Linked DNA regions of Homo sapiens: regions 2 and 3 are each linked to region 1. Evidence: promoter capture Hi-C in 16 types of primary human blood cells and fetal thymus (Javierre and others, 2016). All regions are on one chromosome and are shown on one strand. The core of a region is centred on a gene start or on the middle of the fragment in contact, and the rest is flanking DNA. Distances in the headings are between cores, read along the strand shown. Region 1 holds the start of PEX26 (peroxisomal biogenesis factor 26). Region 2 overlaps MICAL3 (microtubule associated monooxygenase, calponin and LIM domain containing 3). Region 3 overlaps MICAL3 (microtubule associated monooxygenase, calponin and LIM domain containing 3).

Region 1 (3,940 bases), core at 515-3,014:
CTCCTGGACAAATTTGGAATAGCAAGAAATTTGTTAGGAAAGGGACTTTTCCAGGCAGCAGCCGCTTAGAGCTGGCCGCTTCTGAGCATGTTCGTCTTCCCAGGCCTGGCTCACATTTTCAGTGCTTAATGCGCATGGCGCTTTATGCGCAATATTACTTAATTCTTCCCTCAGCCATTGGGAGCTAAGGACAAACTGTTATCCCAATTTTACAGGTGAGGAAATCAGAGCTTATTTAAATAAATTGCCGAGGTCACACAACTAGTAAGCGACAAAATCTCAGTCAAACCGAGGCTCTTTTGGTTCAAAGATGTGTATTGAGCTCTACTCTGCTCTGCAGGGACAGAACTAAGTATGTTTGCTATTCAGGGGATACACAGTCATTCCATGAGCAAGTTACACAATGTAAAATAAGGACATTGTGAAAAACAAAACCATACCGTACATAATGCACTTTATAGTAAAGTACTGGGAACAGAGTATTTGGTAAATTGTAACTATAATAATAATTTTAAACAGATCCACAAATCACACTTATTATTATATTCTGTTTCACCCGGGCTTTGCCAAGCTTCCCACATTTGTACTAGATCCTCTTGGCTTTAGTTTCTCCCCAGTTCTCTACCCTTTGAATTCACTCCAAAGCTTCCCTAGAATCTTTGCTCTCCTAGAAATTAGATTAAACAGGCACCTGCTCACATCATACATCCCCTGCCCTTGTCACCAGACATGCACACATCCATCTTCTGGGATTTCCGTTCTCTTGCAGAAAAGTCTGCATGGGAAGCTGAGGCAGAACCAAGTCCACCAGACTCCGAGGAAAGAGAAGTCTGGACCCTGTAACCAGATAAAAGTGAAACCAGGACTTCATTTATTCCACAAATACTTTTTGACTACCTATAGATGACAGGCACTGTTCAAGGCATTGAGGTTCCCACAGTGAACAAAAGAGACAAAAACGTCTGCCTTTGTGAGTTTATATCATAGTGGAAGGAAATAGACAATAAAAATAAGTAAAATATAGACATTGGTATGTAGATGGTGATAAATGATAAGGAGAAATATAAAGACAGATCGGAAGTGACAACAGTGGGGAAGTGGAATTGGTATCTGCATTTAACGTTGTTTTTTAACAGCAAATTCAGGATGGGGCAGAGAGCAGTGAGAAAAATGAGGCCCTTATGCTCAGCGCCCCCAACCCCGCCTCGGTGGGGTCACTATTCATTTTGGAACATTGCCCTTGGGACCAACATATTCTCAGTGGTCCTTGTGAAGGTTTCCACCCTAAGTCCCTCATCCTCACCAGGCAATATTCATTACCCTACAGCAAACTCCGGAGGCAACGCGGAGAAAGTGTGAATCAATTCAAGACTAAGGTTGCCAAAATGTTTGATCAGCTCTGCGTCAGCCTTGACATTACATTACATTACAGATCCCCTGATCGCCACCGTCGCAGAAGCTCTGAATTAAAAGCGTGCATGTAGCTGCACATCCATTGCTGGCACTTCTTCCGTTAGCCTCCGCTGGAACTGGTTAGTGAGGACCCCTCCATTTCACAAGACAGCTTCGGTTTTGCTTCGTTTTGACTTCCGCACCCCGAAGCTGTAGCACCAGTTTGTTTTCTCACGGCACAGGGGCGGCTTCCGGGGCGCGGCGTGCTGGGGGTTGTAGTCCGCGCTCTGCCTCCTACTTCCATTACAGAAGGCGATGGGCCGAGAGCTGAGGAACTACAACTCCTAGAGTACTCCGCGCCGCCGGGACGCCGCGCGGCTGCGGGGCTGGGCGAGCGCAAAGATGTCCGCGCCCGCTGCCGGGAGGCGAGGTGAGTCTTTGATCGTAACCAGGAGCCCGGAGCTGAGGCAGTTCCTGCACGTGTCGCGGGGCCGGAGAAGCTAGGGCCAGGTATTCCAGGGATGCAAGAATCCTGCAAATCTGACGTGTAAACTGCTTCCCCAGCCTCCAGGCGAGCCCAGCTTTTGCCTCAGATAGGCCCCTTCCTTTTCCTTCTCGGGGAATCGACCTCGGGAAGGGGTGTGGGCAAAGAGATGAGGACTCTCCCTCTTCGCCCAGGCCAACTCGGGATATCCCGGAGCCTCTGGGGAGGCGGTCACTCCGACGTCTGAGGACCTGGGCCTTGGACCCGGACTCGTTATGAAGAGCGATTCTTCGACCTCTGCAGCCCCCCTCAGGGGGCTCGGGGGACCCCTGCGCAGCAGCGAGCCGGTGCGCGCGGTCCCGGCCCGGGCGCCGGCCGTGGACCTTCTGGAGGAGGCGGCCGACCTCCTGGTGGTGCACCTGGACTTCCGGGCGGCGCTGGAGACCTGCGAGCGGGCCTGGCAGAGTCTGGCCAACCACGCCGTGGCAGAGGAACCCGCGGGCACGTACGTGCTGGGCTCGGAAATGAACCGATTTCCGGGCGCTCTTGTGGTGGGGCTCAAGGTCTCAGGAGTTCTGTCCTTCCCAGATTGCCCACAAGGAGCTTTACACCTCGCTTTCATCAGTGGTTTGTCTCCGAGAGGGTGGTCGCTCATCGTGTGCCCATTCTACAGAGAAGGGAAGTCGTGTAACAAAAACTTAGTGGGGATCCCACAGCCAATTATTTGCTCCTTGTTCCAAGGTACAATGACATGATGGGAAGGCTGAATGTGTATTAAGTGCTAAGTTCTGTCAGTAAGCAGGTGGTAAAAGTCCTCTCCCAGGTACCTCCGCCCTCCCCGCCCCGCCCAAGGTTGTTTATTCCTGACCTTGGCTGATGATGGGGAATGGGGGTCATGGCAGGAGCAGCGTTCTGGTCCAATTAGAGGACTGGATTAAAGAATTAATTCAGGGCCGGGAGCTGGGGCTTACGCCTGTAATCCCAGCACTTTGGGAGGCCGAGGCAGGAGGATTGCTTGAGCCCAGGAGTTCGAGACCAGCCTGGGTAACATAATGAGCCCTCTTCTCTACCAAAAAGAAGAAAAAGAAAAGAATCCGGAGAAAAAAACCTTGGGCTTGCATTGCTCTTTCTAATGCCACCAGCCTCGTCTGGCAGGTGAGGGAGTCATTTCTTTGCATTGTAAACTTGGGTTAGGCCACGCTAGGGAGGTGGTAGGTAGAATAGCTAAAGTTGACCACAAAGAAGGATGATCTGGAGAGCCCTGGCTGTGTTTTAGGGGACTGGGTGGGAGCTCATTTCAGTGAATGCAGAAGGCTTTGCTTCTGGGTGTCTGGAGGAACCTTACTAGGTGGTGCCTTTTAGCCAGCTATGGAGTCTATACCTCCACTCAGCCAGAAACCTTGCTCCAAGCCCATTTGTTCACAGAGCAAACTCTTAGTTCCAGCTCTCTTTTCAGCCACACACCGGTGCTGTGTGTTATTTCCCCCTCAGGATTACCCTTCCTCTTCATTTAAATCTGATTTCACCTGGATACAAAGATGAACGTTGAGCAACAGCTGACTTGCCTCTTGAAAGAGGGTTACAGGAACTTTTAGTTCCTGGGGGAAAGGGCAGCCCATGAGACCAATTGTGAAGCCCATCTAAATACTAACAGGGATGAGAGAGATGATGGCTGCTGAGTTGGGAGCTGGAGAGGAACAGTCCCAAGGTGGAGGTGGGAATGGAAATGGAGGGGAACCACTTCTAACTGAAATTGGTTTTTCTGCTGACAGCTCATTGGAGGTGAAGTGCTCCCTGTGTGTTGTGGGGATCCAGGCCCTGGCAGAAATGGATCGGTGGCAAGAAGTCCTCTCCTGGGTCCTTCAGTATTACCAGGTCCCTGAAAAGCTACCCCCCAAAGTCCTGGAGCTGTGGTAAGTCTTCTTTGCTGACTCATCAGATCGGTTCAGAAACGAGAGGATTTTCATCTCCTCTCCTAAATACCTACTCTTTTCCCCTTCCCTACTATTGCCCTCCAGATCGGATTCTTTCCCTTCACTTTTTTTTCCCCAGACTTCCATACAT
Region 2 (3,940 bases), core at 804-3,303, 110 kb before region 1:
TTTAGTTCTCACTTCCTGAGAAGTGTCAGGTTTCAGCACTAATATCATGTATACATTTTAAAAAATCCAAAATCAGAAGCAGAATTTAGTAATTCCCCACCACTTCCTATGTTCCCTCCTCTAACACCTGTAATATTCCTGGCACACAGTAGGTGCCTTAAACAGGTCCTTGAATTGGGGTTGGTGAGAAAAGGTGCTAAGTCTGTCTTTCCAAGCCATTTAATTGAGCAGCATTTTTTTTTAATGTGGAAAATTTTTTTATCTGTTACGTCTTTCCTATTATATTTATCTTGTCCTTGATTTCAGCACCCCACCCGATTTGCAGGCAGTGCTTTCTAAACTGTGCCCTGTGAGCTGTTAAAAAGTCTTCTGGAGGCCGGGCATAGTGGCACACACCTGTGATCCCAGCATTTTGGGAGGTCGAAGTGGGCAGATTGCTTGAGCTCAGGAGTTCGAGACCAGCCTGGGAAACACGGCAAAACCCCGCCTCTGCCAAAAAAATTAGCTGGGCACAGTGACATATGCCTGTAAGTCCCAGCTACTCAGGTGGCTGAGGTGGGAAGACCACTTGAGCCCCAGAGGCGGAGGTCGCAGTGAGCTGAGATTGCACCACTGCACTCCAGCTTGGGCAACAGAGCAAGACCCCGTGTCAGAAAAAAAGGGGGGGGCTGGGCGCTCATGCCTTCAATCCCAGCACTTTGGGAGACTGAGGCAGGCAGATCACTTGAGGTCAGGAGTTTGAGACCAGCCTGGCCAACATGGTGAAACCCCATCTCTACTAAAATACAAAAAATTAGCTGGGCATGGTGTTGTGTGTCTGTAATCCCAGCTACTTGGGAGGCTGAGGCCTCCTCAGCCTCAGCAGGAGAATCGCTTGAACCCGGGAGGCGGAGGTTGCAGTGAGCTATCGCACCATTGCACTCCAGCCTGGGCGACAGTGCAAGACTCCATGTCAAAACAAACAAACAAAAAACCTCATCATTCATCTAGCATTGACTGCATTCATCTAGCATTCATCTAGCATTCATCTAGCATACATCTAGCATTCATCTAGCATACACAGGCACCAGACACTGTGTTGGGGCTAAGCACAGAATGTGAACAGAACTCCTATGTCTCCTGTGCCCCAGAGATGGAAGGACAGTGGTGGACACAGCCATCGGTGTAAAAACGTCAATATATAGATACATCCATACTTACACACTGTGAGAAAAAGAACAGCAGAACCTAAGACAGAACATCGGAAGGGGCCCCCTGGCCCTTCAGGTGGTAATGAAGAGGTATCCAGCCCGACCCGGGAGGGAGGATGCCCAGGGAAAGGAGGAGCTTGCTCCAGGGGCAGAAGCAGCACACGTGCACCGGCACAGGCGACAATGCACATGGCCTTCCAGGACCACCGGCCAGTGGGCTCAGGGCTCAGTGAGAGAGGAAGAGGAGGATGGCAAGGCAGGCAGGCCACTCCACACAAGGCCAGGCAAGGCCTCTTAACGAATCTGGATGCAAGGACCTTGCTTTTTCCTACATCTTTCATTGTTCCCAAGCCCAGTGCGCTCCTCAAGGCAAACACTAAGAACACATGCTCAGTTCAGCAAATCAGTTACAAACCAGTGGCTATTTAATAAGCAAGGTACTGTTAAAATCTTGGCCCTCAAATTTTATAATTTGGTTTGTAGAAAAAAGGAACCAGACCATCCCATCTCAAACAAAAAACAAAAAAATCTTGAGACAAGAAAATATATATCCTGAGGCAGTATCTGATTAAACACCAGATGAAATGTTCAAGTCACATGGTCCACTGGAAGGGGAAATAATTCCCAGGTAAGGTGGTGACAACGGGTTTCCCAAAGAGGGTGGGACTCCAAGTAGAAACTGAAATCTGGAGCGAACCAGGCTAAGCTACCTGGGAGGGTGGACCAGGCACACGCAACAGGTGAACGGACGTACGGGAGTAGGGACAGCAAGGCACATCGGGGAGGGGTAAGCACACAGAAAGGTTGAGCCCGCCTACAACACACAACAGCCCATCCCGGGCAGCTCACCCCCATCTTCAGGGCCTTGGAGGCAGAAGGAAGATTCCCACAGGTCAGGGTCCGGGGCTGGTCTCCTGGCAGGCACACTTTGGGGCAGCAGGAGAAGGAAGGTGAGTAAGACTGTCTGCCCCAGGAAAAAGGGCAAGGGCAGAGAGCTATGGATCTCATTCACTGGGATAAAAAATTAAGTGCCAAGGAGGGAGAGGAAAGGGAGGAAAAATAATCCAAATTGTTGTAGTATTGTGCAACTGAAATTCCATGCATAAGCCAGGAAATTCAAAGGTCACAGTTCCCACAGCAACTGTAACCTGACCCGTCAGCTTAAGTAGCCTTTGGCACTGCCAGCCCCCAAGCGCCTGCAGCCCCTACAATGCCCACCCAGACCTGCCCTCAGGCCCCTGCACGTCAGGCATGTTGCGCCTTGCCCAGCCGGGCCCACGTGGGCTGCCCACCTCTGGCTACAAGGGGCCCTCAGCCATGCCCAATAGTTCTCAGTTCTTTAAGGAGCATCCTGTGACTCCGAGCCTACTTGCTGTGGGTCTTTACTTCTGACTCTTCTGTGGGGTGAGTAAGCCTCCTTCACCACCCAGATGGGGGGAAAAGGGAGAAGAGAGGTGTGTGCATGCAGACAGAGGCGCTGCTACCACCCTCTTCACTCATGCCCTGTGGCATCAACACTTGCCAAGCCTCACCATGGGGAAAACAAAGGTGGGGGGAGCCTGGGGAGGGAATGTTGTAGTTCAAAGGACATCAGAAAAGACGGCTTACCAAATGGGAGAAACTTTCTACCAGTCTGAAATCTGATAAGAGACTTACTTCTGTAGGGTATGTAACTGAGCATATGATCCTTCCCAACAGGGCCTGGGACACCGGCTTGATCATCATGAGGCCCAGGACGGAGCCACACATAGGTCATGATAGTGGAAGCAGCACAGGGTGTGAAGCTGATGGCCACAACCGACCCCTTCCAGCCCCACTGTGGAACCGGGGTGGCAGTTCAGAGTTTGGGTGTCTGCTGTGTGCAGAAGGGAGACCAATCAGAGCCAGGCTTAGACGCAGGCAAATCATGGGCCCTTTCGAAAAGACAGGCTGGCCAAGTGCGATGGCTCACACCTGAAATCCCTGCACTTTGGAAGGTCGAGGCAGGAAGATGAGTTGAGCCCGGGAGTTTGACACCAGCCTGGGCAACACGGTGAGACGCCGTCTCTACAAAAAATTAGCCAGGCATGGTGGCACGCACTTGTGGTCCCAGCTACTGGGGAGGCTGAGGTGGGAGGATCATTTGCACCTGGGAGGTCGAGGCTGCAGTAAGCTGTGGTCGCACCACTGCACTCCAGCAACACAGTGAGATGCTGTCTCAAAAGAGATTAAATTTAAAAATGTTTAAGATACATAAATAAAAAACAAGTCCCCTGAGCTCCTCCTCCTATTTATCACAACAGAAAAGACTGAAGACTCACCCAAAAATGGTTTATATCCTGGAAATCATACTTCCCTCTGGGCCATGGTTTATGTGAGCTGCCAAAATTCCAGGCTCAGGGCAAAGAATGACTTTCCTGTTACTCTGGCTCCCAGGGTGAACACAGGTAAGGAAAGTGACGAGGCAGTCAAGAGCAAAGCCCAGCTCCCTAGGGCTTTGTGAGGAAGACCAGCTCCACCACCCTGCTGTCTGCCCTGGGCCTGGCCCTCAACAGTGCTGATAAAACAGGCTTCAGGGGACTGCTGTGAGAAGTAAGTGATGGTATGTACAGCAGAGCCTATGCTGCATGGCCTGGCACACAGAAGTTGCTCAATAAACGGGAATTACTAGTACTGCTGCTATTTCCACATTTCATGTTTTACTCAAACCTGATACATTTATAAGAGCTGTGTGAGGCCAGGTGTGGTGGCTCACGCCTATAATCCCAACA
Region 3 (3,940 bases), core at 1-2,500, 83 kb before region 1:
TGGGGCAATAATGGATCTGCTTGGGTTCCACAACTTGGGAATCAGAAGGAAGAGAAGGGCTTCTTCATCTTTTCCAGGAGCAGGGCAGCCCTCAGCACTCTCTGGATTCCCAAGGCACAGCCCCCAGGTTCCTGAACACACAGTGTCTTAAGTGCCCCCCGGGAAGCCCCCCTGCGCCCACACTCTCCTCCCAGTGCTTCAGAATTACCTCCTGACTCTGCCCCCTGAGAAGCAGGCCAGGAATATTTCAAGGAATATGCCAACTAACCTCAATGCACCTCTCCTGGCACTTCAGAGAGAGAACTCAAGAGTGAAGAGAGGGAAATATGGAGGAGGGGTCTGAAGACAGGAAGCGGTGACCCCCCAGGACGGAGGTAACCCCGTGGAATATGCCCAAGTCAGTTGCCCTCAACTGGTCTGTGACACCACAAGTCCAAAACCCAATGCCTTCATCTAAATCCTGACGCCACCACTTGTTTTAGCCCTCTGTGCCCCACTTCCTAGTGTGAAAAGCAGGGATCATAACAGCACCCCGTCTGTCCGCTGTGGTGAGGACTGAGCGCGTTAAGACACGTGGGCACTCAGGACAGTGTGGCATGGCCAACAGTCTCTAAGCATCTCTGATGCTGCCATCGCTGCTGTGCTCATCAGCGCCAGGTGCTGCTCTCCCACCCCTGTCCCTGTCCCATCACAGCCTGACAATTCTCAGCCACAACAAGGAGCTTTGTTGGTGGAGGAGGGAGGAATATGGCTAGAACCTCTGTAAGCTGACTTTCTGTGGGCTGGGGACAGTCCACGCTAAAGGGTAGCTGCCATTCCCCTGGGGGCTCCAGGTGCCAGGAGTGAGCACTCTGCATCTTCCCCCTGACCAAGCTGCTCCTCCTCTCTTGGCTTCCAACACTGGCACTGGCCTCCCGGGACCCATGCTACCTCCAGACTTCAACTGGCAACAGAAAAGAGACAGAGGGCTGGGTGCAGTGGGGTGCCTGTAATCCCAGCACTTTGCAGGGATCACCTGAGCCCAGCAGTTCAAGACCAGACTGGGCAACACAGAGAGAGCTTGTCTCTCCACAAAATTTAAAAATTAGTCGGGTGTGGTGGTGTGGGCCTGTAGTCCCAGCTACTCAGGAGGCTGAGGTTGGGGGATGGCCTGGCCCAGGAGGTCAAGGCTGCAGTGAGCCGAGATCATGCCACTCCAGCTGGGGCCACTCCAGCCGGGGCCACAGAGTAAGACTCTGTCTCAAAAAAAAAAAAGAAAAAAAAAGAAGCATGGGCAGGAGAGAAGAGAAGCCTGGGACCCACTAAGGTTTATTTCGCCTTTACACAGGAAAAGTCAATAAAAGCCACTAGTTAACCACAAGGCTGTGCTGTCCATCCCTCTCCTGCCAGAGTTAACCAGACCGAATCTCCTGCCAGAGTTAACCAGACTGAATCCTTCAACAGATATACAATTCAACAGACACCTGCAGACGTGCCTAATGCAGGAAGACTCCTCACTAGATTCCCTCACACATAACACACATGCACTCTGAGCTGGGCGCTAGAGAGACACGGCCTAACAGAACACGAAAAAGATACTGTTGTCCTTGCCAAGGTCCTCACTACTTAGCAGAAGCTCTTGCCCTTCCGCTTCCACCTTTCATCAAGGTATAAGCCAACAGTCTCACTTCTTCTCTCTTCTTTAATCTGATTTCTGTCCTCCCTTTTTCTTTTAAGAGACAGGGTCTCACTCTGTCACCCAGACTGGAATGCAGTGGTGTGATTATAGCTCACTGCAGCCTCAAACTCCTGGCCTCAAGTGATCCTCCCACCTCAGCCTTCTGAGCAGCTGCGACTATAGGTGTACACCACCATGCCCGGCTAATTTTTAAAATTTTTGTAGAGACAGGGTCTCACTATGTTGCGCAGGCTGGTCTCAAACTCCTGGCCTCAAGCAATACTCCTACCTTGGCCCAGCCTCTCAAAGTGCTGGGATTACAGACGTGAGACATTGCACCCAGCCTTTTCTTTAATTTTTTTTTTTTTTTTTTTTTTTTTTTTTGGGACAGTAGGGTCTTGCTCTATCACCAAGGCTGGAATGCAGTGGTGCGATCTCCGCTCACTGCAGCCTTGGCCTCCCAGGCTCAAATGATCCACCTACCTCATCCTCCTGAGTAGCTGGGAATACAAGTGTGCAACACCCACACCTGGCTATTTTTTGTATTTTTTTTGTAGAGACAGAGTTTCACCATGTTGGCCAGGCTGGTCTGGAACTCCTCACCTCAGGTGATCTGCCCACCTCGGCCTCTCAAAGGGCTGGGATTACAGGCATGACCCACCACACCTGGCCTCTTTTCTTTTTTAAAACTGCGGCAATCATCTCTCCTCTGTTGAACTCACCAATGAGAAAAAGTCAATGGGGCCAGGCATGGTGGCTCACACCTGTAATCCCAGCACTTTGAGAGGCTGAGGCAGGCAAATTGTTCGAGCCCAGGAGCTCTAGACCAGCCTGGACAATGTGGCAAAACCCCATCTCTACAAAAAATTTTAAAAATTAGCCAGGCTTGGTGGTGCACGCCTGTAGTCTCAACTACTCAGGCAGTCAAGGTTGCAGTGAACCATGATCGCACCACTGCACTCCAGCCTAGGTGGCAGAGTGAGATGCTGTCTCAATTTAAAAAAAAAAAAAAAAAAAAAAAGGCTGGGCACAGTGGCTCACACCTGTAATCCCAACACTTTGGGAGGCCGAGGCCAGTGGATCACAAGGTCAGGAGATCGAGACCATCCTGGCTAACACGGTGAAACCTTGTCTCTACTAAAAAAAAAATACAGAAAATTAGCCGGGCATGGTGGCAGGTGCCTGTAGTCCCAGCTACTCGGGAGGCTGAGGCAGGAGAATGGTGTGAACCCGGGAGGCGGAGCTTGCAGTGAGCCGAGGTCGTGCCACTGCACTCCAGCCTGGCCCACAGAGCAAGACTCCATCTCAGAAAAAAAAAAAAAAATGCAATCAACTGCAAGGCTTGGGGTGACAGTTTCCTGGTCATTCTTCCCAGTTTTTTTGTGTCTTTATAGCTAGAGATGACTAAAGCCCACCTCCAAGAAAACAGCAAGTCACGTACAACTGAAGCCCATGGGGGCAGGATGCTGTTCTCTCCACCGGGGCAATCCAAGCACCTGAGTGTCTGACACCACCCATCACCCAGGGGATCCGAGCTGAATTCTAAAGACTGGAACCAAAGATGACAGAGTGCGTGGCTGGAGAGAGGGGGAAGTCCACAGAGTTTAGGTAAATTTCTGAACCACATCCCCACCACGCCCACAATGTACTGCATTGAAGTACACCGGAAGCTAAAGACCAAAAAGGAATCAGATTTTCAGCTCTGCCACCTAAAGCAGAAACTGAGGGCCTTATTCACCGCACAGACTTTAGCCCAAGTGCCATGCCTCCAGTTTCACAGTTTCACCAGCAGCTCAAGCAAAATGGCCTGGACACTAAAGATGGCCTCTGGGTCAGAGTATCACTCATTTCCTCTGTCCACAAACCACTTTGATTCTCTTTGATTCTCTCTGTCCCTCATCTCCCCATCTAGTCTTTTTTTTTTTTTTTTTTTTTTTGAGACAGAGTCTTGCTCTGTCACCCAGGCTGGAGTGCTGGAGTGCAGTGGTGTGATCTCAGCTCACTGCAACCTCGGCCTCCTGAGCGCAGGCAATCCTCCCACCTCAGCCTCCAGAGTAGCTGGGACCACAGGTACACACCACCACGCCCAGCTAATTTTTGTACTTTTTGTAGAGATGGGGTTTAGCTATGTTGCCCAGTCTGCTCTCAAACTACTGGGCTCAAGCAATCTGCCCACCTCAACCTCCCAAAGTGTTGGTATTACAGGCATGAGCCACTGCGCCCGGCCCATCTGGTCTTATTAAATACTTCATTCTCTGCAAATGCAGACGTTTTCTCAGCTCT

The links. Contacts are between HindIII fragments. The CHiCAGO score rates a contact against its expected background, and 5 or more counts as called.
Region 2: a fragment that was not itself captured here is called in contact with the fragment with the promoter of PEX26 in region 1 in 1 of 17 cell types (total B cells); the score reaches 5.2 in total B cells.
Region 3: a fragment that was not itself captured here is called in contact with the fragment with the promoter of PEX26 in region 1 in 2 of 17 cell types (total B cells and naive B cells); the score reaches 9.7 in total B cells.

What each region holds. Positions count from the first base shown.
Region 1 is chr22:18,076,226-18,080,165 of GRCh38, forward strand. It overlaps PEX26 (peroxisomal biogenesis factor 26), which reads left to right and starts at 1,765. Exons shown (of 5, transcript NM_001127649.3): 1 at 1,765-2,381; 2 at 3,649-3,789. The coding sequence starts at 2,152. It overlaps LOC105372853 (a long non-coding RNA gene), which reads left to right. Exons shown (of 6, transcript XR_001755424.2): 6 at 1,433-1,671. RefSeq lists enhancers at 1,439-1,498, 1,829-2,058, 2,539-2,588 and a silencer at 2,129-2,178. The HindIII fragment of the contact is 13,258 bases long and covers 644-3,940 here.
Region 2 is chr22:17,970,526-17,974,465 of GRCh38, forward strand. All of the region lies in intron 1 of MICAL3 (microtubule associated monooxygenase, calponin and LIM domain containing 3), which reads right to left. Among named protein-coding and RNA genes, the nearest start is that of MIR648, 8.5 kb to the right of the region's middle. RefSeq lists an enhancer at 3,070-3,622. The HindIII fragment of the contact is 8,182 bases long and covers 1-3,940 here.
Region 3 is chr22:17,993,480-17,997,419 of GRCh38, forward strand. The region is part of intron 1 of MICAL3 (microtubule associated monooxygenase, calponin and LIM domain containing 3); the gene reads right to left. Among named protein-coding and RNA genes, the nearest start is that of MIR648, 14 kb to the left of the region's middle. RefSeq lists enhancers at 369-869, 870-1,370, 2,962-3,161. The HindIII fragment of the contact is 7,510 bases long and covers 1-3,940 here.